Linked DNA regions of Homo sapiens: all the other regions are linked to region 2. The links are contacts of gene promoters, found by promoter capture Hi-C in human tissues and cell types (Jung and others, 2019). All regions are on one chromosome and are shown on one strand. The core of a region is centred on a gene start or on the middle of the fragment in contact, and the rest is flanking DNA. Distances in the headings are between cores, read along the strand shown.

Region 1 (4,174 bases), core at 96-2,595, 150 kb after region 2:
TGGGGTGCATTCAGGGATGAACCCAGAAGTTCTTCCCCAGCATTCTGCCTTCTGCTTCCCCTCACTGTGACCTTCCTTACAATGGTGCTGGTGGTCTCCCTCCCCTTAGAATCAGCCAGTGAAATTCCAGGGTGCATGGAGGATACTTTGCATGGGGCATCTGATTCACCATTGTCTGAATAAGGAAATCACTTCTTATGTCAAGGTTGGGAGCCCCTGTGAGCAGCTGGAGGGGCTCTCCCTTGGAGTGGAGGATCCCCAAGTCCCTGAACTCACACTGACAGTAGGGTGACTTCCCAGGGAGCTCAGAACCTCCACACTAGACTTAGCTGCCTCTCCTGCCACCAGTCTGAGAGGCTTCTGATGTTACAGACTGAATCTACTGTTTAATTTCTAACCTCCCATGGCTCCCAATTTAGGGCTCACCTATGGGGTCCAACCACTCAATTAGGGCAGGCATTAATGACAGTGGCTGCTTCTACAGTGTATTGCAGGAGGCGGCAGCACATCCCCAGTCCAGGAGCTGTTCATTCCTCCACAATGGCCGCCTTCAGGATTTCTTTATCAGGTAGCACCTTGGTAGTCATTAATACCATGGTAAACATCAGACAACATTGACCTGAGGATAGTGGGCTAGGCCTTGAAAAAATGGGGCAGGTAGGGGAGCAGGGCACCAAGATGGAGGAAAGGGCAGCTAATGGTTGAACTGAAGGCAACAAAGAACATTTTCCCCAGTTTTGATATTTTGCCAAAGGTGACCCCTGCAGCCCATCACATCCCCTCTGCAGGGCTTCAACCACCTATTCTAATTTTCTAATAATATGAATAGCTACTCTTTATGGAGCACCAACTCTTGAGATGGAGTATCTTTTTATTCCTACTTCACAAATGAACGAATGGAGGCTCAGGCAGGTTAATGATCTTCTCAAGGTGGCACAGCCAATGGGTGGTGGAGCTGGTATCCAATCCAAGCATGATCTCAAAACTGTTGTTCTCCACCACAGTCATTTTTTCCTACTGAACTCTCTCTCTTGTGCACTCTGTCTCTTGCACTTTCTGTCTCCTTTTCTGTTCTGAACCTGGTACCGACATGAATTTTAAGCTAGGTCAAGATTACTGATTTGTCTGGACCATTCATTTGCTTCCATTAAGAGTCAGGCAGGGAGAGTGGCAGGAATAACCTGGTATACATTTTACGAAAACCCCACAAGCTTTGAACACTCTGATTCTGTTCAATCTTTTCTCTCCCTCCTGTTCTTGGCAACTGTCCCTTAAGCCCGTCTGTTCTCTGCCTCTAATATATTATGCAGATATTTTATTACCAAACAATTAGATCCACTAACTTGAAAAGGAAACGAGCAGGAAATTGCAATTATAAGAGTAAAAGCAATGCTCTTTTATTTCTCCCCTTTATGCATATGAAATATGGTTTGTCATTGCTGCAAAACAGACTTTTCTCCTCTTCCATGGCTCTTCACTGCCTTGTCTTTAATAATTGAGCAGAAAGCAGAGTAATAATTAGATTCCTGGTAACAGGGGAGATATCCATAGATTTGCAGCATGTGGAGGCTCAGCTTGGAGCCATGGGGCCCACGACCATGCCTCCATGGGAGAAAGCATACTTCAGGCTGTTTCACTTGAGTACCTTCCAAAGCCTTCTGTACATCCATGGTCTTCTATGTAGATTAAATATTTGCTCACAATTATTGTTTCCTTTCTGCCTTTGCCATGCTTTCCCATCCCATTGACTCTGGGCTTGGCCAAGACTTCTTTTGGTCAATGGAATATGAGTAGATGTGATGTACAGCTCATTGTACTACACAGAAGCTTTCAATGTGCCTGTAATATTTGGCCCTACTTCTCTTGAGCAACACTCAGGATGGAGGCTGCTCCATCTAGGTCCCTGAGTGATTGTGCTGCACAGAAACACCCTGCTGACTCCTGATAGATACGTAGTGAGAGCAAGAAATAAATGTTTGCTGTTTTGAGCCACTGAGATTTGGAGCTGTTTTTAAATCACAGCGTAGCCCAGCCCAACCTGACTGATATGTCTGTGATCTCATTTGACTCTCATTATGTCCCTGGGATAGAGAAAAGGCTGATCACACTGGGTGGTGTCGGGGAAAGAGCGTGTGATGTGGAATCAAAGGGACCTGGGTAAGAAGGCTTTTCCCATCATTGCTGGCTGTGCAGGCTTATCCAAACAACCCAATCTCTCTGAAATCCTGTTTCTTTATCTGTAACATGAGAATAATAAAACTTACCTTGAAGATCCCTGTGGATCAGAGTCAATGTATGCCAAAGGTCCTGGTGTAGAACCCATCACAGAATAAGCAACTAATACAAGATAGTTGTTTTTTTAAAATTAGTATTTTATTTATTATTTTTATTTTATTTTAATTATCACTCTGTCACTCAGGCTGGAGTGCAGTGGCGCCATCTCGGCTCACTGCAACCTCTGCCTCCTAGGTTCAAGCAATTTCCTGGCCTCAGCCTCCTGAGTAGCTGGGACTACAGGCATGTGCCATCACGCCTGGCTAATTTTTGTAACTTTTGTATTTTTAGTAGAAACGGGGTTTCACCATGTTGGCCAGGCTGGTCTCTAACTCTTGACCTCCAGTGATTCACCCACCTTGGCCTCCCAAAGTAATCCATGCTAGTAATGGGATTACTAGCATGAGCCACCACATCCAGCCAAAAATTAGTATTTTAAAATCTCTTTTTGACATTGTTTCCATTGAACATATGGGAATGCTGAGCCTAAATCTGTTGCAGAGACCTGCCTAGGCAAATTAAATAACAGAGCCGGAATACAAGTTTTGATTTTCAGACTTTGTGTTCAGAGCTTTCTCCCCGGACTAATAAGTATTGCCTGAGTTCCACACCTGGAACTGTGCTAAGGAGGCTGGAGGGTCGGGGAGGCAAGTGTTAAGAATGAAAACATTGCTTCTCCAAGGAGTGCAAAGTCTACATGGTGAGATAAGCTAAATAACAGAGTTAGTTCCAAAGAAGCAGCTGTTTTTTTTAAGGCACACAATATTCTGATTTTCTAAACTTTGAATGCATAAAAGTGACCTGTGTAGCTTATTCAAATGCAGACTCCTTGGTCCCGCCCTAGAGTTTCCACTTTAATACTATCCTGTATGATTAGAGGAAGTAGAGCAGAGTGGGCTTTGGCACAAGGCTCCCTGGGTTCAAATCCCTCCTCTGGCACCTACAAATTAATTACATGATCTTGGGGAAGTTATCTAACCTCCCTGTGCCTCGGTTTCTTCATCTGTGAGATGGGGGTAACATTACCGGTTGTCTTATATTACAGTGAAGATTAAGTTAGGTAATATGGCTAAAAGACATGGCACTTAGCAGACACTTAGTAAGTGCTACCCATTAGTATTCTGATGCAGGATTTCTAAAAACCATGAGTCTGGGAACTTCCTAAAGGAATGGCCCAGGACAACCCTTTTCTCTGGTGTCCCAAGTGAGTACCCTTTTATGGGACTTCTTGAGACAATGTCCTCAACCCTTGTGGTGCCTACGGGGGAATTCCAATCATGGAAACTTTGATTGTGGAGGCATAGTTGAGACCAGCAGTACATCATGATGACTCTTAAATCATATGTATGCTGCAGGCTTCTGCTCACCCATGCAAAGGTTTGTCCCTGGTAGAAGACCTCCATGAGCAAACTTCATTTGGGAGCCATCTCTGGCTGTCAGATGGGCAGCAATCCAGAGAGGTGCCTGGTTCTTGGTGCCCTGAGGCTGAGTCAGGCAGGATCTGTCTCAGTGGAAACGTTTCACTTATTGCTCTTGCCCTGTGCCAAATGCCTCATTTTGCCCCTTGTTAATCATCAGATATTAGCGTCCATAAGAGTCATATTTACCAGGAGAGAGGTTTTCTTCTTCTTCTTTTTAAATGTCTTTGAATAATTCATGTCCAATTTAGAAGGATTAAATATGGTGTGTTCTCCCACTCCAGCAAGAGCTGGAGGTGAAAATCTGGTTTCTCAGACTGCAGAGGCCAGGCTGCTGGGAACCCTCCCGGATTCAGCCTCTCTTCACTGCTGAGAACTGTTCGACTCAAGGCCTGCTGGCCTATTTTTCCCTGTTGTCTCACTTGCCTGTACTGGCTCTCCAGTTTTTCTAACTCTTCAAGACCCACTCCTGCCACCTTCTA
Region 2 (4,156 bases), core at 1,193-3,692:
CTGATTTTTTTAACTTTAAAATCTTAAATCACCATAAAAACTGATCATTAAGATGAGCAGAAGACTTCCCTACCTATGCTTTCAAAATTTTTATTATTACTATTTTTTACAATGAGGACATTCAGAATAACAAAGGTTTGATACAAACCTTGATTAGCTTCTAGGAAGCTTGATTGGAAGGGGAAAAACTACAAAGATATGGTTGACTTGAGAGGGAGGGGGGGAAAAAGAAAGTGTTTTCTTTTTTTCTTCGAATATTATTTTGAAGGCTGCCTCCCCGTTCCACCTTTCCAATCTCTCTTTTGAACAGACAGACATTTTCTCCATATTGGATAAAGGTTGCCTTCTCTCTCCATTACAGCCCCCACCCTCACCCCACCCCAACAAACCCAGTATATTTCCATTCTGCTGTGTTTTTGTGTTACTCAACATGCCATTAACTTTAAGATTTACTCCTCAGCAGGCAAGCTGGAAGATACTAAAGCCAATAAAAACTGCTCTCTGGGACTCCAACTATGAAGAGTTTGGAGCTCTGTTTAGTATTCGAACGAAGGGAGGGCTGGAGAAAGAGGGTGGTTGTGATAGTGAAAATCGCTGCTGCTTAGAGAGCCAGACAGCTCTGCGCTCTGCACCTAATGTGCTGGAGGATCAGCTGTGTCCATAGCCCATTTGTGGCCAAGGATGAGGCTGCTCTCTATGTGGGGGTGGGTGTGCGTGTGTTTTCATCTTTAAAACCACCAGCTGTAACAGCATCTTCGGCGGCTCTCCACACTACTGTTTATTAAAAACGGAACATCCATACACATCCCCTACAACTTCCTTAGCCCCGTGCTCCTTCCCTGCCTGGCGATCAATCTCTCTCAGAAAGCATTTAACTTGCCCACATAGATCCAGCACCGATTCATTCCCGCTGCACATCCTATATATTACTGTTAGGAAGCGGAGCACTGGGCTAATTTCGTCACCCACCAGCCACCCACACACATTCTACAACTGAACACGTTTGGGGCTCTGCTTTAAAGATAATAAAACAAGGAGAAAACAGGCAGGCTGCGGACAATTCCCATGACCACTTTCCTAAAAAGTTGCTGTGTTTTAATTCTTTGATTATTCTGTCTCCCCCTCCCCCAAGCACTCACTGGCAATGATCGCTTCAAGGGAGAAATAATGTACTATAAAGCTCTCTGCATGGTGAGTTTGGGATAAATTAGGGTACACCTTTCAAAATGCAAATCTCGCACACACATATTTTTTTCCCAAAGCCCCGCTTTCCTGGGAAGGGGACTATCCAGGCTTGCCAGACCCCCCACTCCACCCAGGGGATGGCTGGTTCCTTGCTAATTCTTGCCTTAGGTTTTATCACTGGTTCCTTCAAACATCCAACCCCCCCACCCCCAACACACACCACCATTCACACCACAATCAGATTATTGAGGCACACAGCTCGACAGGGAGAGTTTACTGTTACATTTAAATAAAAATTTCTCTTTGAATTTGTCACCTCTCTCCCTTTTAGACGGCTGCGCTCCTGCTACTCTAGCCCGGAGCAAAGGATGAGGAGACCACCTCCTTTAGTATTTTCAGCACCACGGCGATGGACAGCACCCTCGGTCCTCGGCCGGCCAGGAGCCCGCGAGTCCGTCCGCTCAGCGTCCTGGGCTCGACCGGTGCAGCCTTCCCCATCCCCATCTTTCAGGTCGCTGTACCCAAAAATCCAAGCCCCGTCTCCTCGATCCCCTCTCTCTTTCTCTTCATCGGCGCCCGCTGCTCTCTCCATGGCATCGTTCCTATCAGCACCTCGCCCAAAACCCAGTCTTGCCCCAGCGAACAGCTCCCCACGCACCCCAGCTCTGGTCTCCGCTGCCCGAGCGCCTCCCTCCACCGCGCCCGCCCGAGGCTTCCTCTCGCTTAGTCCGCCGCTCGTCAGTCGCCGGCCGGCCGGTCGGCCCGCCAGCCCGCTCCTGCTCCCCGGCAAAGTTGGGAGGGAAAGGTGTACTCACCTTTGTGCATGCCTGTGAACCTGTCCTTCAGAACCGTAAGCTCGTAGATTTTGCCAAACTCCTCGAAGAGGGGCTTGAGGTCCTTCTCATCCAGGTTGCGGGGGATCTGCCCAATGAACAGCTTGATGGCATCGTGGTCCTTCATGGGAATGGTCGACGGGTTCCCCGGGCTGTGGCTTAATCCGTTCATGTGCCCGGCACTGCCCGGGCTGCTGCCGAGCCCGTTGGTACTGAGGCTTGCGTTGTCAGCCTGTCCGTTTGCTAACGTGGCCATCTTTATATACATAGAGAAAATCTTCTTTCCTTTTATTCTTTCTCGCTCACACTCTCTCGCTCCTCTCTCTCGCTCGCTCGCGCTCACACACGCACACGCATACACACACTCGGGTTCTCTCCCCCTCGGTTTCTCTACACCTCGCTCTCCGCTCGCTCTCTGCTCTCTCTCTTTCTCCTCTTCTCTCGCTCGCTCGCGCTCGCGCTCTCTCTCTGCTCTCCCCCCTCTCTCTCTCCCTCCCTCCCTCTCCTCTCTCTCTCCCTCTCTCTCTCCCTCTCTCTCTCCCTCTCTCCTCTCTCTCTCGGTCTGATCTGATTTTTTTTTTCTTTTTTTCTTTTTTTTTTTTTTTTTTTTTTTTTTACATTGAACAGACAGGATCTCTGTCCTTTCCGTTTAAACAGGCTGGACCGGTTCAAGTTCCCAGCCAGACCAGGGGTGGGGGTGGCGAGTGTGCGCGCGCGGAGGAGGGCGCGGGGGGCCGGGAATGGGCGCGCTGTGGGGGCCCGCGCCACGGCGGGCGGCGGCCGGGGGCAGGGCGGCGTGGGGCGGCGGCCACCGCGCCTCCCCCGTCGGCGGCCCCGCGCCGTGGCGATGGTACAGTCCGAGACGGCCCCCGGCTATAAATAGCGCCAGGCGCATGGCTCTTCGGGAGGCGCTGAGATTCCGGGCCCGGCGGCCGCGGGGAGCGGGTGTCCGTGAGGAGCCGGGCAGCCGGCCTCCTCTCTTTGCCTTTTGGGGGTTCTTTTTGTAATAGCAGCAGGTGCAACTTTTTGTATTTTAAAAATAGTGATTTTTATTTTCGTGTGGGTATGTAGGGGGGCTTTATCCACCAAGCTATGCTCTATTAGGGCGCCAGGCGGGCGAAGCAAAGGCAGGGATGGCGGGCGGGGCGGCGGCGGAGGTGGAATGGGCGCTTTTTTCTTCCATCTGGCTTTATTTATTTATTTAGACTAGAAAAGCGAGCCGGCTTGGAGGGAGTCCGCCCGGGGATCCGAGCGCGCATTCATCAGTGTCGAGAGAAAAAAAGCTACATAAATATATATTATGTGGATAAATCTATAGACAAGAGCTCTCTCGCGCGCGCTCTCTCCCTGTCTCTCTGTGTGTGTCTTTCTCTGTTTTTTTTTCCTCCTCGCACCCCCAACCTGCCAGAGCAGCCCCACATCTTCCTCCCGCCCGGCATCTACCGCCACCCAAGCCACCTGCCAGGATGGGGCTGGGAGCTGTCGGGCCGCGCCGGGGGGCAGAGGGACGGGGAGTAGAGACTCGGGGTCCGACCCCCGCCCCAACCCGCTTCCGAAGGCGGAAGGTGGGGGTCCCCGTCCCGGGCGGCCTCCCCCGCCCCGGAGAGCGCGGCTGGTCCCCCGGTGGCTGGCGGGAGGAAGGTAGGAGTCGGGCGCCCCTGCCCGCTCGCCCGCCGGAGGGGGAGGAAGGCGCTGGGCGCGGTGGCCGGTGAGCCAGCGCGGGGGATGGCTTGATTTGCCCTCGTCTGCTTTACGGGTTCAAATAGAATATATTTTTTTAATCACCATCAAAAGAATAAAGCCCCTGAATCGCTATCTGGGTTGCCGCCGGACCGAGACTCGCGCGGCGTGCGCTGCCCCCGCGGGTTTCGTTTTCGGCACCTACAGCTCCCGAGGTGCGAGGCTGAGTCGTTCCTGCCGTGGGGACCGGGGGTCGAGCCGCCCGGTCCGGACCCCGCCGGACTCCCCGCCAGGCCCACTGGGGCTGGCATCTCGGCTGCGCGGGAAAGGGAGTGGCAGGCGCGGAGCCGGGAGCAGGGTCCGAGCGGCCCCGCCTGTAGGGGTGAATACTGGTGGTGAACTTGGCTGGGGTAGCAGATTTTCACGTTAATGATATTTACCTGCACCCCGTCCTCTCT
Region 3 (4,161 bases), core at 1,195-3,694, 230 kb after region 2:
ATCTTGAAACAGCAGGTGTTCCATCTGTAGGCCAGGGCTGCTTGGTGAGGCCCAGAATGGAAAGATGTAAAGGCTCAGCAAAGGAGCTGCACTGTGGGCTAGCCAGAGAAGGATGGCTCCCTGGGAAAAGCGGGACCTGAATGAAAGGTGTTTTGGAGAGGAAACTGCATCCTTCCTCTGTCCATGGAAAACAGAGGAAGAGCAGGAAACTGGGCCATGCTTGCTTCTGCAGGGTCCTCGCTGTCAACGAGTGGTGGTTATCTAATAGGGGTCCCTGCCGAAGCCACTTAGCAGCACTCATGCTAAGGGGTGGTGATCTCCAACCCCAGAACTGGGGCGCTCTGGCAAAGGCAGCCTGTAACCACCCAGAGTGTAATTTGTCAGAGACACGAAGGTTAACATTTTTCTTCACAAAAACTGTCTTTAATGGCCATCAGCAGTCAGGACCTCTGATTTCTGTCTCATTTGAAAGCTTTTAATGCTTTCAGAGGGATAGATGGGGTGACCTAATAGGTCTTTTCCATCTCTGATTTTCTATGATTAATGAAGTTCAATTGTGCAGAATAAAATGGTGAGTTTCTCGGTGTCACTTCAGCTGTATTCCTTTTCCCTCCCTCTTTCTTTCCTCATTTTTTTTTTTTTTTTAGACAGATGATAATCATGCACATTTTCTCTTAATGCTTCAGGGAAAAAAGGGACTTTTTCTTCTGAGCCAGGCTTTGAAAATGTCAAGGTGGGTGTATTTATCTGTAGTGTAAATTGTTGCCAAATGTCGCTCCTCACTCCCCACCCCCAGGATAGACTGGGTGTCTACATTAAAGGCAATATGAACATTGAAAATGTGGAGACACTCTCTGTTTATAGAGCTTATTAGACTTTTTTCCAAGTACCTTTATAAGAGACATGTGTTTAATCATGTCCTGACTTACTGTCTTCTGGGGTAGACATGAGGACTGTCTAACCCTCTTTTGTCTGAAGGGCAACTGAGGCCCAGAGAAGTTATGGGACATGTTCTGGGCTCCCTAACCAGGTGAGGGGAAAGCCACCTGCAGGGCTTGTTGGATCCACTCTGCTCCATCTGGGATTACAGTGCAATTTTTAAGGTATCTCATGGGAAAATTGTAGAGGAATTCAGTTTCTCCCCTTGTCAGCCTGAAGTTTTTCCTAGGCTAAAAGTTCTGGGAATTACGAAGAAGCCAGGCCTCTAGAGAAGCATCTTAGGAGCAGGAGGTTTTTCACTCTTATGCACTCTTTGCATTTGGAAGAAAGGCTGCAAGGATAGGATTTCCATGGGTTTGTGTGTTTAGCCTCTTTTTTGGTTAAAGGACATAGATTATGCTTCTCTGAATTTCTGGATATATCGCTCAGCATGGAAGACAGTCAAAAGGGGGTCAGACAAAATTCCTTTCAGGAGGAGCAAAGACTGTCAGTTTGACAATTCTGCTGCCTTAGAGTCCTGGGACAGTTCTTCAAAGAGACTACATGTTGATCCGTAAAAAATCTAATCAATCCATCGAAATCCCCAAGTGACTGAATTTAGACTGCTTCCGTATTTCCAAGATCCTGGAAATTCACAAGAGAAAAAATAACTTCCAACATTGTCATCGGTAAAGGTCCTCTGGCCTGGATTATTGCAGATTCAAATACATAGAGCACATACCCTGACTTTTAATTGACGCTCTTAAATAATCCACGTGTGCTAGATACGTGCTAATAAGGGGCAATGGGGGCTGGCCCTGCAGCTGGCTTATGGCCTGGCAATTTCACCTATCTCTCTAGATGAGGGTAAAAAGCCTCTTCTGGGACCATATCATGGAAGTAGTCATTTTCTCTGCTCCCATATCTCAGTCTTATGTTTTGTGATTTTGGAGTCACCCCTGTGTGAGCTATGCACTAGTGAAAGCTCCTCTCCATGGCTCCGCCCTTTCGTGGATTGGATTACAAAGGAAGCAGGTGTTGCTCCTTGAAGTTGAGCAATAGGGTGGGTCTCATTTTAAGTTAGAAACAGACTCAATGGTGCTTGAGTGGGATGGGTGAGGTCTAGTGAACGGAGCCCAGGATCCATGTAAATCCTCAGTGAACACTTTCTTACAGGAGATTAGGCAGCTGGTAAAACATGAAGGCCTGGTCGAGGGAAACAGGTAAGTTGGGAGATTTTCTTATCCATATTCTAAGGCCTAGTTCAAGGGGTAGTTCAAATCTGCTACTTCTGTGAACCCTGCCTACAGTCTACACTTGCCTCTCCTCTCTGATCTATATTAGTAAGAATAGAGTTTCTCTGAATGAGTTCCTAGGACCATAGGCATTGCTGTGGTTTGAATGTGTCCCCTTCAAAATTCAGGTGTTGCCAATGTGGTAGTATTAAGTAGTGGGGCCTTTAAGAGGTAGTTAGGCCATGAGGGTTCCTTTCTCGTGAATTGGATTGGTGCCCTCACAAAAGTATTTGATGGTGGGAGTTTATCCCTTTTCGCCCTTTTGCCTTGCATTATGTGAGGACATAGCATTCCTCCTGTCCATAGGACACAGACTTCAAGATGTCAACTTGGAAGCAGAGACTGGACCTTCACCAGACACAAAACCTACTGGTGCCTTGATCTTAAACTTCCTTCCCAGCCTCCAGAACTATGATAAAATAAGTTTCTGTTTTTCATAAATTACCCAGTCTCAGGTATTCTGTTATAGGTGTGCAAAACAGACTAAGATGGGCGTTTTAATCAACTTGAGCTTCCTGAGACTCAGGATAGAGTGGCAGAGCTAGAATCCCTGGAGGTGAAACTCCAGGATCTGCATTTAGTCTGCCCACCTCTCCAAGGAACATTGCGCACCCAGGTTTGGGAATAATGGCCAGGACTTTTTTTATTTTACTTTATTTTTTTTTAACTCTAAGTTCTGGGATACATGTGCAGAACGTGCAGTTTTGTTACATAGGTATACGTGTGCCATGGTGGTTTGCTGTCCCTTACCAACCTGTCATTTAGATTTTAAGCCCTGCATACATTAGCTATTTGTCCTGACACTCTCCCTCCCCTCACCCCCCACCTCCTGACAGGCCCTGGGATGTGTTTTTCCCCTCCCTATGTCCATGTGTTCTCACTGTTCAGCTCCCACTTATGGGTGAGAACATGCGGTGTTTGGTTTTGGTTTTCTGTTCCTGCGTTAGTTTGCTGAGGATGATGGCTTCCAGCTTCACGTATGTCCCTGCAAAGGACATGATCTCATTCCTTTTTATGGCTGCATAGTATTCCATGATGTATATGTATCACATTTTCGTTTGTTGTTGTTGTTGTTGTTTTGTTTTTCCGAGATGGAGTCTTGCTCTGTCACCCAGGCTGGAGTGCAGTGGTGCGATCTCAGCTCACTGCAACCTCCGCCTCCTGGGTTCAAGCGATTCTCCTGCCTCAGCCTCCTGAGTAGCGGGGATTACAAGTGCCCGCCACCATACCTGGTGAATTTTTGTATTTTTGGTAGAGATAGGGTTTCACCACGTTGGCCAGGCTGGTCTCAAACTCCTGACCTCAAGTAATCCACCCTCCTCAACCTCCCAAAGTGCTGGGATTACAGGCATGAGCCACTGCGCCTGCCCTCACATTTTCTTTATCCAGTCTATTACTGATGGGCATTTGAGTTGGTTCCATGTCTTTGCTACTGTAAACAGTGCTTCAATAAACATATGTGTGCATGTGTCTTTATAGTAGAATGATTATATTCCTTTAGGTATATACCCAGTAACAGGATTGCCAGGTCAAATGGTATTTTTGGTTCTAGATCCTTGGGGAATTGCCACACTGTCTTCCACAATGGTTGAACTAATTTGCATTCCCACAACAGTGTAAAAGCATTCCTATTTCTCCACAGCCTCACCAACATCTATTGTTTCTTGACTTTTTAATAATTGCCATTCTGACTGGTGTGAGATGGTATCTTATTGTGGTTTTGATTTGCATTTCTCTAATGATCAGTGATATTGAGCTTTTTTTTCATATGTTTGCTGGCCACATAAATGTCTTCTTTTAAGAAGTGTCTGTTCATATCCTTTGCCCACTTTTTGATGGGGTGGTTTTTTTCTTATAAATTTGTTTAAGTTCCTTGTAGATTCTGAATATTAGACCTTTGTCAGATGGGTAGATTGCAAAAATTTTCTCCCATTCTGTAGATTGCCCA
Region 4 (4,139 bases), core at 743-3,242, 200 kb after region 2:
CTAGCTGGTCCATAAGACCAGACTTTGCCTGTGAAGAGCTAAACCATCAGCATATAAAATTTTTTGAGCTTCAGTTTCCCTATCAATGAAATTGATATAATTCTTATCTGGCAGTTTTGCTGTAAAGATTCATTGAGACAGTCCAGTATAGTGTCTAAAATATCATAGATGCCTAAACTCACTGTGAGTTGAAGGTACCACTATCTTTTTTGGTTTGTAATTTTATTTGTTAAAATAGAGAACACAAAGAACTTCTGGCTTTCCACTACCGTCACAGCTTGGTAGGTGGAATTGGAGATAGCTTGGCTGTTTGAGCTTTGAGCTTTGGCTGTGACCTGTTTCTGCCTTACTTCGAGTTCCATTCAATCCACCAGCAAAGATCTGGTCTGATGTGGTCACTATGGCTTAAGGTAGCAAAACTGGAGCTAGGCTCTGCTGTCCTCACTTCCTCAAAAGCACCCAGGGCTCAGCTCAGGCCTATCTCTGCACCCCAACCCCACCCCACTCCCCAGCTGCTGATCTCATTCTTTTGCCAGGGCCAATTATAATTAAAACCAGATTTGTAGGGAGAAACATGCGTGCACACACAGCCAAAGCCTGGAATTGCTTACCCGAAAACAAGTTCCCTCCTCCTTCTGCTCCAGTTCTTCAGCCTTACCAAGAGTAGGGGAGGGAAGTGGAGAGAAGAAATAGGATTTGCATTGGGCGTGCTGAGGCAAGGTGATCCTGGGCAAGTGACAGGCAAGCAGTCATCCTCCACCTCGCTAGTTTTTGGACTAGCTCAGGGCAGCAGCCTCAGGTTGCCCAGTGGAGTCCAGCCCAACAGCAGCACTTGGCCTTCCCTCCCTTGGGGTGGGTCACTGTGGGTTGAGCCCAGCACCGTGGGGGCCAGGGCTGGGCTGCTTGCCCACTGTACCTCATTATGTATTCCTTCATTATTTCCTATGCAAATTAAGTTAATGAGAATTAGGAACATAATGGAGCCCATTCACCGTTCTAGTCGCTGGAAAATGGGTTTGACTACCAATTTTCCATTACAGCTGTTTTGTAATTACCGTGGAATACTCTGAATTCTAATGGAGACACTGAGCTGCCTGACAGCCTCTTGACTACTTTTTTTTTTTTCCTGGAAGGTTGAAAAAAGGAAACTCAAACCCTATAACATAAAAGCCTTTCTATCAGAGTGCCTCGGTTTGCTTCTCCTATGGAGATGTCCTCCACTCTTGCAGGAAAAGTCTGCTTCCATCACTGGGGTCCTGACCTTTGCTGTGATTAGACTAGTTAACCTTTTTGCCAGAGTTATCCCTTGCCTTGCAAGCAAGCAAAATGGAATTTGGGGCTACACTCAGCCAGGAGTGGCCTTCTGAAGCAGGCCAGGGCAGTCCAGGGTCCAGGTGTACCACTGCTCCTGGATCACCTGCTACCCAGCCTGCCTCTCCCACCTAGGACTCCAACCAAACACCTCCTCACTCACCTGTTGCTGTTTGGGACACTTAAGAGTATAGGGGTTATCTTAGTCCATTTGGGCTTCAGTGTACTGTAGACTGAGTAGCTTATAAACAACAGGAATTTATTTCTCAAAGTTCTGGAGGCTGGGAAGTCCAAGATCAAGGTGCCTGCAGACTCAGTGTTCTGTGAGGGCCCGCTTCCTGGTTCATAGCTAGCTGTCCTCTTACTGTAACCTCACATGGCTGAAGGGGTGAGAGATCCCTCTGGGCCTTCTTTTATAAGGGCACTAATCCCATTTCTAAGTCACTTAATCACCTCCCAAAGGCCTCACCTCCAAATGCCATCACATTGGGAATAGAGTTTCAACACATACATTGGGAGAGATGCAAATATTTAGTTATAGCATTTCACTCTGGCCCCTCAAAATTAATGTACTTCTCACATGTTGTCAATTCAAAAGCCCAAAGTCTAAACTATCTTCTAAATATCATCTAATTCAGATGTGGGTGAGACTCAAGATATGAGTCATCCTGAGGCAAATTCCTCTCTAGCTGTGAATTTGTGAAATCAAACATGTCCTGTGCTTCCAAGATACAATGGAGGGACAGACATAGGATAGACAATCCTCTTCCAAAAGGGAGAAATAGGAAAGAAGAAAGTAGGAAGAGGTCCTGAGCAAGTCTAAAACCCAACAGGCAAATTACATTATGCCTTAAGTCTCCTTGGCTTGATGCTTTGCTCTCTAGGCATACGGTGGTGGGGGTTCTGTCTTCTAGACCGACTGAGACAGCAGTTCTGCCTCTGCAGCTTTGTTGGACATGGGTTGAGCCCCCAAGGCTCTGGGTAGCCCTGTTGTCTCAGCTTGGGGCACAGCCTCTGCCACAGCTCTCATGGGATGGAGTTGTGTGCCTGATGCTCTTCCAGGCTGCGATTGTATGCTGGAGGCTCTACAGGTGTAGGGTCTCTAGGGGGACTCACCCCCACAGTTCTGCTGGGCATTGCCCTAATGGGGTATATTTGTGGTGGTCCCAAACTTCTCAGTGGCCCTCTGCCTGGGTTCCATGCCAGCAGCTCCAGTCAGCTCATCCTCTGGAATCTAGGTGGAGGTAACCACATCCCCAAAGCTTTGCTGGATACAGGGTAACCCCGACTAGGGCCCACTGAAGCCACAATTTGGGGTGGCTGAATTGCTTGGAGTTGCAGTGTGGGGAGTGAAGCCAGTGATGTGAGGCAGTGTTGGGCAATGCAGGTGGATACTCCTCTGCATTTTTTTTTTGTAGCTTCTTTTGAGATGACTGACTAATCTCTATTGGACAGTTATTTGGCCACACCCTTAGTATTCTTTCCTGAGTAGTCTTTCTCATTATTTTCAATGCAGATATTCTGAAAATGTTCCAATTCTTTAGGTTCAGTTTCCATATTGATTAATAATTCTGTTTGTAAGTCATTTCTTTCTTTTCACATTTTACTCTAAGCAGTCAAAAGGAACTAGGCCACTCCTTCAATACTTTTAAAGATATTTCCTCCGCCAAATTTCCAGTTCTGTTGCTTGCATGTTCTATCTTCCACCAAACACTAAGACATGAACACAATCCAGCCAAGTTCTGTGCCACTTTATAATAAGGATGGTCTTTCCTTTATTGTCCAATAAGTTCCTCATTTCTGATGAGGTCTGAGACCTTATCAGAATGGCCTTTACCAGCCATATTTCTACCATCATTCAGTTCAGAATTACTTAGATATTCTCTAAGAAGATTGAGGCTTTCTCTACAGATCTCTTTTCTTTCTGAGCTCTCACTAGAATTGCCCTTAAAGATCTGTTACAACAATGTTGGCTTTTTCTGGCATGTGTCCCAGAACTCTCCAGCCTCTGCCCATTGCCCAGTTCCAAAGCTGCTTCCATATTTTTAGGTATTTGGTATAGCAGTACCTCACTTCTGAGTATCAATTTTCTGTCTTAGATCATTCAGGCTGCTATAGCAAAGTACCATAGATTGGATGGTTTATAAGCATCAGAAATGTGTTTCTCACAGTTCTGGAGGCTGAAAGACAATGACTGAGGTGTCAACAGATTTTGTGTCTCATGAGGGCCTGCTTCCTGGTTCATAGATGGCCACCTCTTCTGTCATGTCCTCACATGGTGGAAGGAGTAAGGGATCTCTCTGGGGCCTTTTATATAAGGGTACTAGTCCTATTCATGAGGTCCTCTGCCTTCATGACCTAATCACTGCCCAAAGCCCCTACCTTCAAATACTCTCACATTTGAGATTAGATTTCCACATACAAATTTAGTCTTTGCTATAATAATCCCCTCTTTTGTTTTATTTTACCACTGACAAAGACTCTCTCCTTGATCAGACTTTGATAAGGCTCCCCTGAGACCTCTTCTCAACTGGCCTAGACTTTGGCTCCAATTTTTACTGAACTTTCATAGATCAGTTTTATCAAGAATCCTACTAAGTGGCTAGGTGCAGTGGCTCACGCCTGTAATCCCAGCACTTTGGGAGCCTGAGGCGGGCGGATCACGAGGTCAAGAGATTGAGACCATCCTGGCCAACATGGTGAAACCCCATCTCTACTAAGAATATAAAAATTACCTGGGTGTGGTGGTGCATGCCTGTAATCCCAGCTACTTGGGAGGCTGAGGCAGGAGTATCGCTTGAACCTGGGAGGTGGAGTTTGCAGTGAGC
Region 5 (4,237 bases), core at 966-3,465, 220 kb after region 2:
TCCGCAGAGTTCACACATGCACCCCACAGACACACAGAACTCACACACATACGCCACCCCACAGAGTTCATACATGCACCCCACAGACACACACACAGAACTCACAAACATACACCACCCCACAGAGTTCACACATGCACCCCCAGACACACACAACTCACACACATACACCACCCCACAGAGTTCACACACGCACCCCACAGACACACACACAGAACTCACACAGACATACACTGCCCCACAGAGCTCACACACTCACCCCACAGACACACACACAGAGCTCACACACACACACCACCCCACAGAACTCACACATTCATATGCTGCCCCATAGAGCTCACACATGCACCAAACAGACATACACAGAGCTCACACACACATACACCACCCCACAGGGATCACATACTCCACCACACAGAACTCACACATATACCCCACAGACACACACACACAACACAGAGCTCACACATGCACCCCACAGACACACACACACACACCACCCCACAGGGCTCACACATGTACCCCACAGACACACACACACATACACCACCCACAGAGCTCACACACATACCCCACAACCACACACAGAACTCACACATACACTACCCACAGAGCTCACACATGCACCCCACAGACACACGCAGAACTCACACACACACCACCCCACAGAGCTCACACATGCACTCCACAGACACACACAGCTCACACACACATACACTGCTCTGCAGAGCTCATATATGCACCCCACAGACACACACACAGAACTCACATGTAAATACATCCCTCCACAGAACTCACAATGCACCCTATAGACACACATACACACACACACAGAACTCCCACATAAATACACCACTACACAGAACTCACACACAAATATACCACACATGCACATAGAACTCACATGAAAATACATTCCCCCAGACAGAACTCGCAGTGCACCCTGTAGAGACACACACACATATACACATACACATACACAGAACTCCCATATAAATATACCACACATGCAGAACTTATAAATATACCACACATGCACCTAGAACACACATGCAAATATACCACACATACACAGAACTCATATGCATACATTGCAGACAGACAACCCACAGACACTCACAGAATGCACACACATACAGTACACACATGTACTTCACACACATTACCACTGACACACAGATCTCTTGCACACACATTGACGGTATACACACAAAGCACACACATACAGTACACACATGTACTTCACACACATTACCACTGACACACAGATCTCTTGCACACACATTGACGGTATACACACAAAGCTCACACATATGCACACACTGCCGACAAAGACAGAGAACCCACATGGACACACAAACCTCATAGATTTACACACAGGACTCACATTACATATGTACACACTAGACAGCGCGCACCCACAACCATACAGACACATACACACATAAAGGCTGTCTTAGTTCATTTTCTGTTGCTACACAGAAATTTATGAAGAGGAGAAGTTTATTAAACTCATGGTTCTGGAGAATGGGAAATCTAACAGCATGGCATCGGCGTCTGTGGAGGGCCTTTGTGCTGTATTATAACATGGTGGAAGGTATGACATAGCAAGAATGAGGGAGCGTGCATGCATGCGTGTCCACTGAGGCCTCTTTCTCTTCTTATAAAACCCCCAGTTCCATCATGGGGTCTCCACTCTGATGATTTGTCTAATCTTAATTACTTCCCAAAGGCCCCACCTCCAATCAACATGTTAATTTTGGGATTAAGTTCCCAACACGTGAAATTAAGGAGACATATTCAAAGCATAGCAGAAAAATAGACCCACACATACATGCATGGGCTCTCTTGAATCTGATTTTTTCTTTTGATTCAATATGTACATAGAAGTTTTATTTTTTAAAAGCTTGCATAGGCCTGTGCAGTGGTTCACACCTGTAATCCCAGTGCTTTGGGTTGAGGAGAGAGAATTGCTTGAATGCAGGAGTCTGAGACAAGCCTGGGAAACAGAAATACTCTGTCTCTACAAAAAAATGAAAAAATAAAATTAGCCAGGCATGGTGGTGCATGCCTGTACTCTCAGTTACTCAGGGGGCAGACGTGGGAGGATTGCTTGAGCCCAGAAGTTTGAGGCTGCAGTGAGCCGTGATTGCACCACTGCACTCCAGCCTGGTGACAGAGCGAGACCCTGTCTTTAAAAAAAAAAAAAAAAGAAATAGAAAGCTTGTGTAGTATTCAATTGTGTAGATCAATCACATTGTAGCTAATCAAATCCTACTGGTGGTAATATGAGTTTATTTAAAATATTTGAATTAAAATAACAAAAAAGGAAAGCTATTGGTTTTTCATGATGTACCAGGCTACATGTATTACGTAACTTAATCTTTACATCAACTCTGCAAGCAGAAACCGAAGTTCAGAGAATTTTAGAGCTTCTAAGTGCCAGAGCCAGGAACCAGAACTAGGAAATCTGTCTCCAGACTTACCCTCAATATGGGTTGGCTTTCAATGAACATCCCTATAGATATATGTTGCTGTGGGAAAAGCTCCTTCAAGAGGAATTCCAAGTTCAGGCGTATATACATTCTCTACTTTATACTCATTGCTGACCTGGCCTTTAGAGAAATGGACCAATGAGTGCATTTCTTATTTTCCTTCATTTTTGCCAGGACTGGGTATTTTTATCTTTGCTATTTGTTAGGTAAAAAAGTCATATCTAAGTATTAGACAATGCCCTTTAGGAAATCAAGTTTTGACTGGCTTGTTTAGAGAAGGCTTTGTGGTGGAAGAAAACATTAACTTTGAAGGATAATTAGCTTTCCAGTAGCAGAGGATATCTTTCTTGAAGATAGGAACAGTGGCATTAGCCAATGTCCTGGGATTCTTAGTGGTCTTGGGGCTTCAAACCTACTGAATTGCATGGGGAAGTCTCTCAAAACTTGTTTGTCACAATGACACTCGGTCCTGAGGCTCAGCGTTTGGAAGATTTGCCTCCTGTAGACATAGACACAGTTTAGTTTTAGGAGGTGGAGGAGAGAGTGTGCATGGTGCTGAGGAGTCCACCTTCAACTGTGACACTGTGCTAGGACTAGCTTTTGGAAATGGGACACCTTAGAAACACAATGGTGGCAGATTTGGGACTCTGTGTGTGGATTATTTACCCTTGGTGGCTTCTCAGGCTTCCCATGCAAAGCAGGCATTATCAGAGCAGCTCTGTGGTGTCAACTGCTTATACCCTCCAGCCTGAGCTGGTCACTGCTAGAGGATTCAGTCTTGCTGTGTGTTTTAGGCCTAGATCTCGCACAGGTAGCTGCTTGCTGCCTTACAAACCATGGCTCTTCCAGGTCCATGTTTTATTGGATCATGACAGAATGATGCAGGCATCTCTGGAGGTAAAACTGGGTCTGTGCCATATCCCCAGCCTTCTCCTTGCCTCCTCATCAGAGCTGCCTACAGCAGTCCTGCCCTGTCTCCATCACCACCTGCCAACCTCTTGCTCAGCTCAGAGCCCGTAGAGCCAGGCAGTACCAGGCAGCTCCCGGAGTTCACTCAGCCGTTGCAGATTTGACACATGATCAAAACTGCAGCTATTCCTTTCTCAAATTCCACCTTCCTGAGTTATTTTAAAATCCAGCTTTTTCTTGCCTGAGAGATTGGATTTCCAGCTTGTGTTGTAAATTTGCTTATAAGTGGGCTCCTTTCGCACGGTGGAAAGGAGAACAAGAAAGAAAAAACAAACAAACAAACAAACAAAAACCACCACAGGGGAACTGCTCCTTCCAGAGCCAATGTGGCCTGAAGACTTTTGTTTCTACAGAGAAGTTTTTGTCCCAAGAGCTGGGGCTGAATAGAATAGGATAGAATAGAAGCTGAGTTATAGCCAGGAGAGAAAGGTGGATGGGCTCTTTCTCCAAGTCTGAAAAATCTGTCAGGGCCTAAAGAAAAGCAGGCAGCAGGAATACATAAAAGTAGTTGGCTTTATTTTCTCCTTGCACCTGGTTTATAGGTGCCTCTGTGTCTGTTTACTCCTGGACCTTATTCGGGGGTTTCCCCTTGCCTAGCCTGTGCGCAAGGACCACCCTGTGGGCCGGAAGCCTGTCTGACTTCTCTTCTGGTCCAGTGCACTTCCGGCCACCCTGGTAGTTCCATACAGATCGGGAGACCAGAAAGGATGGAGTTAATTATGTTTGCCAAATACAACAGACACTGCTTATTTGCATGAATATTGTTCCCAATT
Region 6 (4,293 bases), core at 904-3,403, 180 kb before region 2:
CATTCCAAGCCTTTTCTCCCTTTGTCCTCATAAATACACACTTATATTTGTCAGGCTGTGTGTCTGATTTTTTTGTTAAGGAAATGTGATCACTAGGCTGGGCGTGGTGGCTCACGCCTGTAATCCCAGCACTTTGGGAGGCTGAGGCGGGTGGATCACTTGAGGTCAGGAGTTCGAGACCAGCCTGGCCAACATGGTGAAACCCTATCTCTACCAAAAATATAAAAAATTAGCCGGGTGTGGTGGCATGTGCCTGTAATCCCAGCTACTCCGGAGGCTGAAGCAGGAGAATCTCGAATCGCTTGAACTCGGGAGGCGGAGGTTGCAGTGAGTGGAGATCAAACTGCTGCACTATAGCCTGGGCAACAGTGCAAGACTCCATCTCAAAAAAAAAAAAAAAAAAGAAAGAAAGAAAAGAAAGAAAATGTGATCACCTCTAACTAGATTAATGCCGTGGTGGTGGCAATGATAGGCATGTCAAGGGAAGTAGGGGTTGCTACTGGCTGTAGTTTCTCCCCATCTTAGCTTGTCCATGCCACCTGGTTAATCAATTAGTCAGTAGTCAATTAGGCCAGTAGTTAACTGAGCCAATGTCTCCCCTCCCCTCCACCTCCCCCAGCCCACAATACCCTCTTGCCTACTGGCTTTATTCTAACCTGATTCATTCTGCAAACCCTGCCTTGGGCATGGAGCCAGCCCTCCCTGACCTCCTGTCCAGAATGCTTTTTCTATGATATTGTGCCACACACCTACAGTTTTGTTTCTCTAGTGGTTTCAAGTGCGAATCCTGTTTTCCCATCTACATGGGAGCTCTCTGCTCCACAGTACCTGGCAGAGACCCCACATGTGGACTATTTTCAATATGTATTTATTGATTTTCCAAAGTACTTTCATCAGTTAACACATTTTACCTTCATATAAGTCTGTGAAATGACAAGGCTGTTATTTTCAGATACTACACTCATAGTGCTCAAGTGTGACATTTATTGAAACTTCAAAAGTTTAGATTTAAGAATTAATTTAATCCAAATAAACTAAACTTGCAATTCTAAATATGGCCACCAGGTGGTGGAATCTACCTTGGTATATTCTTTTTGCTTTGGGCATATTACCTGGAGATGATGAATGAATGTATTGATTTTTCTCACTCTTCTGCCACCTTAATTTGCCTACTCTTATATTCCAGGCACATACCCCGCTGTCCCCCTAAAGAATGTCTGCTCTGTGGACCTGCAGATGTACAAAGAGGATGACAATTATTATGTGATGTGTTGAAATAAACAGTGTTCTGGAAGCTTAGAGAAAGGAATAATTAACTCAATGAAGAGGAAGCCTTTACAGAGGTGGCAACATCAGAATGAGGTAAGTAAGGAGGAAATAAGGTGAGAGTGGTGGCTTACAGTGGTAGGAGGCTGAGCGAGGATACCTTGCGGTCGTGGGGAGAGACGGGAAGGCAGTGCTGTGTGGAGAGGCCAGCTTGAGGGAGAACCAGCTTGAGGGAGAACCAGCTGATGGGAATGAGGAGAGTGAGGCGGAGAGCCGTACTGACTCAAAGACTGTCTAGATGATGGTGCCATTAACTGAGAGTGAGAACACACGCTTCCCCACTAATTATCCTTAGAAAAAGTCAAAATAGAACTTTTGATTGAATTAAATTAACTTGAACATGGTGCCATTAAACGAGATTGGAAAGTCTTCTAAAACAAGCCTATAAAGAAAAAACACCTAGGTACAATTCAGTCCCTTTCTCAATAATCTTTAACTGTTATGGTCCTAAATAGTCTCTCTTTTCCTAAATAGTTTCCTCTCTAGGGTTTCAAAGAAGAAGCCCTTGACTGCATGTTCACCTCTTCACTTTGTTCTCATACCTCAGGGTATGTACAGAGTGGGGCTCTGTGAATTCTCTTAGCATTAAAAAGGTGTTATTGTCTTCTGTAGGACAAGTTTGTACTCTCTCTCAGTGACCTGAAGAAGAAGCCACTGGCAGGCAGAAATGATGGACTGTGCCTCTCACTGGTCCTGGGGCTCTCTTGGCGATAGAGAGACGGCACGCACGGGGCTGAGCCTGCTGCGCTGTGGAGGCGGCTCCCCAGCCCCGGCTGGCCTCAGTGGAGGATGTGGGGCTTTTGCTTTGATCCTTGCCCATGGTACAGATTCTAGCAGTAAGAAGAGACAGATGGCCCCCAAGTTCCCCTGGTTCCTTGTCCTGGGCATTACTTTGTGCTGCCCCTTCCTCCCTGCCTTTTCCCGGCAACCAGGGCCATCCCGAGTGGGGGGCTGGGCCAACTGAACCCCATGGTGAAGCTGAACCCATGCCTCTGGGCCAGGCCTTGCTCCCTCCCCAAACCAGCAGAGCAGCAAGGGGCCCTCACAACCTGCCCTGGGACCCTGGCTGGCTTCTGCCTTGGTGGGATGAGGCCTGGATACCCAGAACCACACGCAGCCAACTGCTTCCTTGACCTCCAGCGCCCCTCTTCTCACGGGAGGCTGTTGTTCAATCCTGGAGATTCAGGATCCAGGGCCCACCTCGTGCTGGGCCCAGCTGAGTCCGGCTTGCCAGTCTCCACCCCGAGAGGACTGAATTCAGTTGCTTCTTCCAACTCCTTTGGACAAACCCAGAGTCTCGATGTAAAGTTGAGGACTCTGGTCTGGGGCTTTTTCTGGCCTCAGGAGGCTGGTGGAAGAGTCCAGGGCTGGCTGAAGCTGCAGGTTTTTCCTTGTACCCTAGCAGCCCTTCTGCGGGTGGGACTTTGTTTTGCAGCATCCTGAGCAGATCTTCATGTCCTGCTTTCCAGTCTGACCCTTTGCTCCTTCCAGCTGTAATCCCAGTAGATCTTGGTGCTGGCCCACAGCATCCCCAATCCTGGCGAAGGAGCCAAGGGCAGGGAGCCCCCTGCACTCTCTCATCAGAACAGAGGAAAGTAGGGCCTCATCTCACCTGGCCTGGGGCTGGGGGAAGCCAGCTTTCTCCCTAGTATTCATCCAGACCCTCCTCCTTCCCACCAGCTGATGAGGTTCTGTGGCCCTCTGTGGCCTTTATTGTCATTGTCCCTGCTTTAATGCCACACTCGGTGGAAGGCAGGAGTTGGGGGAGGGGGGAGGGTACTGTACAGCGCAGTGTGATTTGGGTAAATCCTTTGGGGCAGGTTTCATTGAGGGGAGAGAGGAGGGATCACCTGAGGTGTGAGAGGGGCTTCTCTAAAGGGAAAAAGAAAGGTGAGGCTGAGGTCTTCAATGCCAAGCTCAGCACATCTGTCAGGCTTGGTCCTAATGGTGCCAGAAGTCATGCACCATTGCGTGAAGAGATGGGGTAGGGAATACTGTCCCTTCTCCCCAAACAGGCCACCTGTGGCCTCTGACTGCACTCTGACGCTTCCTCCTTTCCCAGCTCCTCCTCTGTCTCCCTCTGCCCTTTGCTTCTCCTCTTCCCTCCCTTCCCTCCTCCTTCTCCTCCTTTCCCCCCTCCTTCTCTCTCCTTCTTCTCTGTCTTCCTCCTCCAGTCTCTCCCATCCTCCTCCTCTTCCTCCTCTCCCTCCCCAAGGCCAGTGGTGCCCTGGCCCTGGTTAAACCTGGTGTCATGCCCTCTCTAGCTTTCCTGTTGCATTTCTCGGTTACTAATGAGCTCAAGACAGCAGCAAACACCCTTCTAGGTCTGCTGCTGTCATTCATTAGCATAATGGGCCATACGAGAAGTAGTTATTGCAATAAGTGCGGTGGGGAGGGAGAAGCCAAAAAGTCCAACTTACATGGGAGTAGGGGGCCTCCCAGAGCCTCCACAGAACATGCTGAGGATGCCTCCCGAGCATGCCCTTCCAGTCTAAGCCCCGACACCCTCTGCTTCTGCCTGGAGCACCTCAGCCCTTGTCACCCTGGACCCTCTTGTCCAGGAGACCTTTTGCAGTGCCCTGAAGGGTGACCTGGGCCATGTCATCCATCGGTTAGTTACCAGGGACTTCCTGGGTGCTCCTGTGCACCTCTTGATGGCTCTTTCTGAGGCTTCCAGTGAAGGCTCTCGGAGGCACCACCCAGCACCTCATGAACAGACTGGGGTCCTGCCCTGGTGAAACAGGGTGGGAGTTAGCCCCCACCCCAAGTTCCTGATGGTTGGCTTAAAGTGAGAAGAAACACAGAGGAAATGAGGGGTCACTATGGTTGAGAGTTGGAGATGCACCTGAAACATGGAGCAGGCACCAGAGGCTGCTCTCAGGCTGTCGCTGTCTTGCTCAGATGTGACGAGATGGGGACCAGGTGGGGCACGGTGAGACATTCAAATTACTGATACCAATCTCCTTC

Evidence for each region. Contacts are between HindIII fragments. The study calls those that stand out against the background at their distance.
Region 1: a fragment that was not itself captured here is called in contact with the fragment with the promoter of CELF4 in region 2 in 3 of the 25 tissues and cell types used here (H1 embryonic stem cells, hippocampus and mesendoderm cells).
Region 3: a fragment that was not itself captured here is called in contact with the fragment with the promoter of CELF4 in region 2 in 4 of the 25 tissues and cell types used here (H1 embryonic stem cells, lymphoblastoid cells, mesendoderm cells and 1 more).
Region 4: a fragment that was not itself captured here is called in contact with the fragment with the promoter of CELF4 in region 2 in 1 of the 25 tissues and cell types used here (dorsolateral prefrontal cortex).
Region 5: a contact is called between a fragment that was not itself captured here and the fragment with the promoter of CELF4 in region 2, in 1 of the 25 tissues and cell types used here (H1 embryonic stem cells).
Region 6: a fragment that was not itself captured here is called in contact with the fragment with the promoter of CELF4 in region 2 in 2 of the 25 tissues and cell types used here (dorsolateral prefrontal cortex and mesendoderm cells).

The regions. Positions count from the first base shown.
Region 1 is chr18:37,713,558-37,717,731 of GRCh38, forward strand. No RefSeq gene overlaps it. Among named protein-coding and RNA genes, the nearest start is that of MIR4318, 59 kb to the left of the region's middle. The HindIII fragment of the contact is 5,321 bases long and covers 1-4,006 here.
Region 2 is chr18:37,563,356-37,567,511 of GRCh38, forward strand. It overlaps CELF4 (CUGBP Elav-like family member 4), which reads right to left and starts at 2,443. Exons shown (of 13, transcript NM_020180.4): 1 at 2,001-2,443. The coding sequence starts at 2,286. LOC124904288 (a long non-coding RNA gene) reads left to right here and starts at 2,922. Exons shown (of 2, transcript XR_007066345.1): 1 at 2,922-3,034; 2 at 3,224-3,333. RefSeq lists an enhancer at 1,987-2,490. The HindIII fragment of the contact is 29,207 bases long and covers 1-4,156 here.
Region 3 is chr18:37,796,685-37,800,845 of GRCh38, forward strand. No RefSeq gene overlaps it. Among named protein-coding and RNA genes, the nearest start is that of MIR4318, 140 kb to the left of the region's middle. The HindIII fragment of the contact is 8,755 bases long and covers 1-4,161 here.
Region 4 is chr18:37,764,161-37,768,299 of GRCh38, forward strand. The region is part of intron 2 of LOC105372073; the gene reads right to left. Among named protein-coding and RNA genes, the nearest start is that of MIR4318, 110 kb to the left of the region's middle. The HindIII fragment of the contact is 4,812 bases long and covers 1-4,139 here.
Region 5 is chr18:37,780,449-37,784,685 of GRCh38, forward strand. No RefSeq gene overlaps it. Among named protein-coding and RNA genes, the nearest start is that of MIR4318, 130 kb to the left of the region's middle. The HindIII fragment of the contact is 3,779 bases long and covers 327-4,105 here.
Region 6 is chr18:37,384,970-37,389,262 of GRCh38, forward strand. All of the region lies in intron 2 of CELF4 (CUGBP Elav-like family member 4), which reads right to left. Among named protein-coding and RNA genes, the nearest start is that of SNORA111, 79 kb to the right of the region's middle. The HindIII fragment of the contact is 8,601 bases long and covers 1-4,293 here.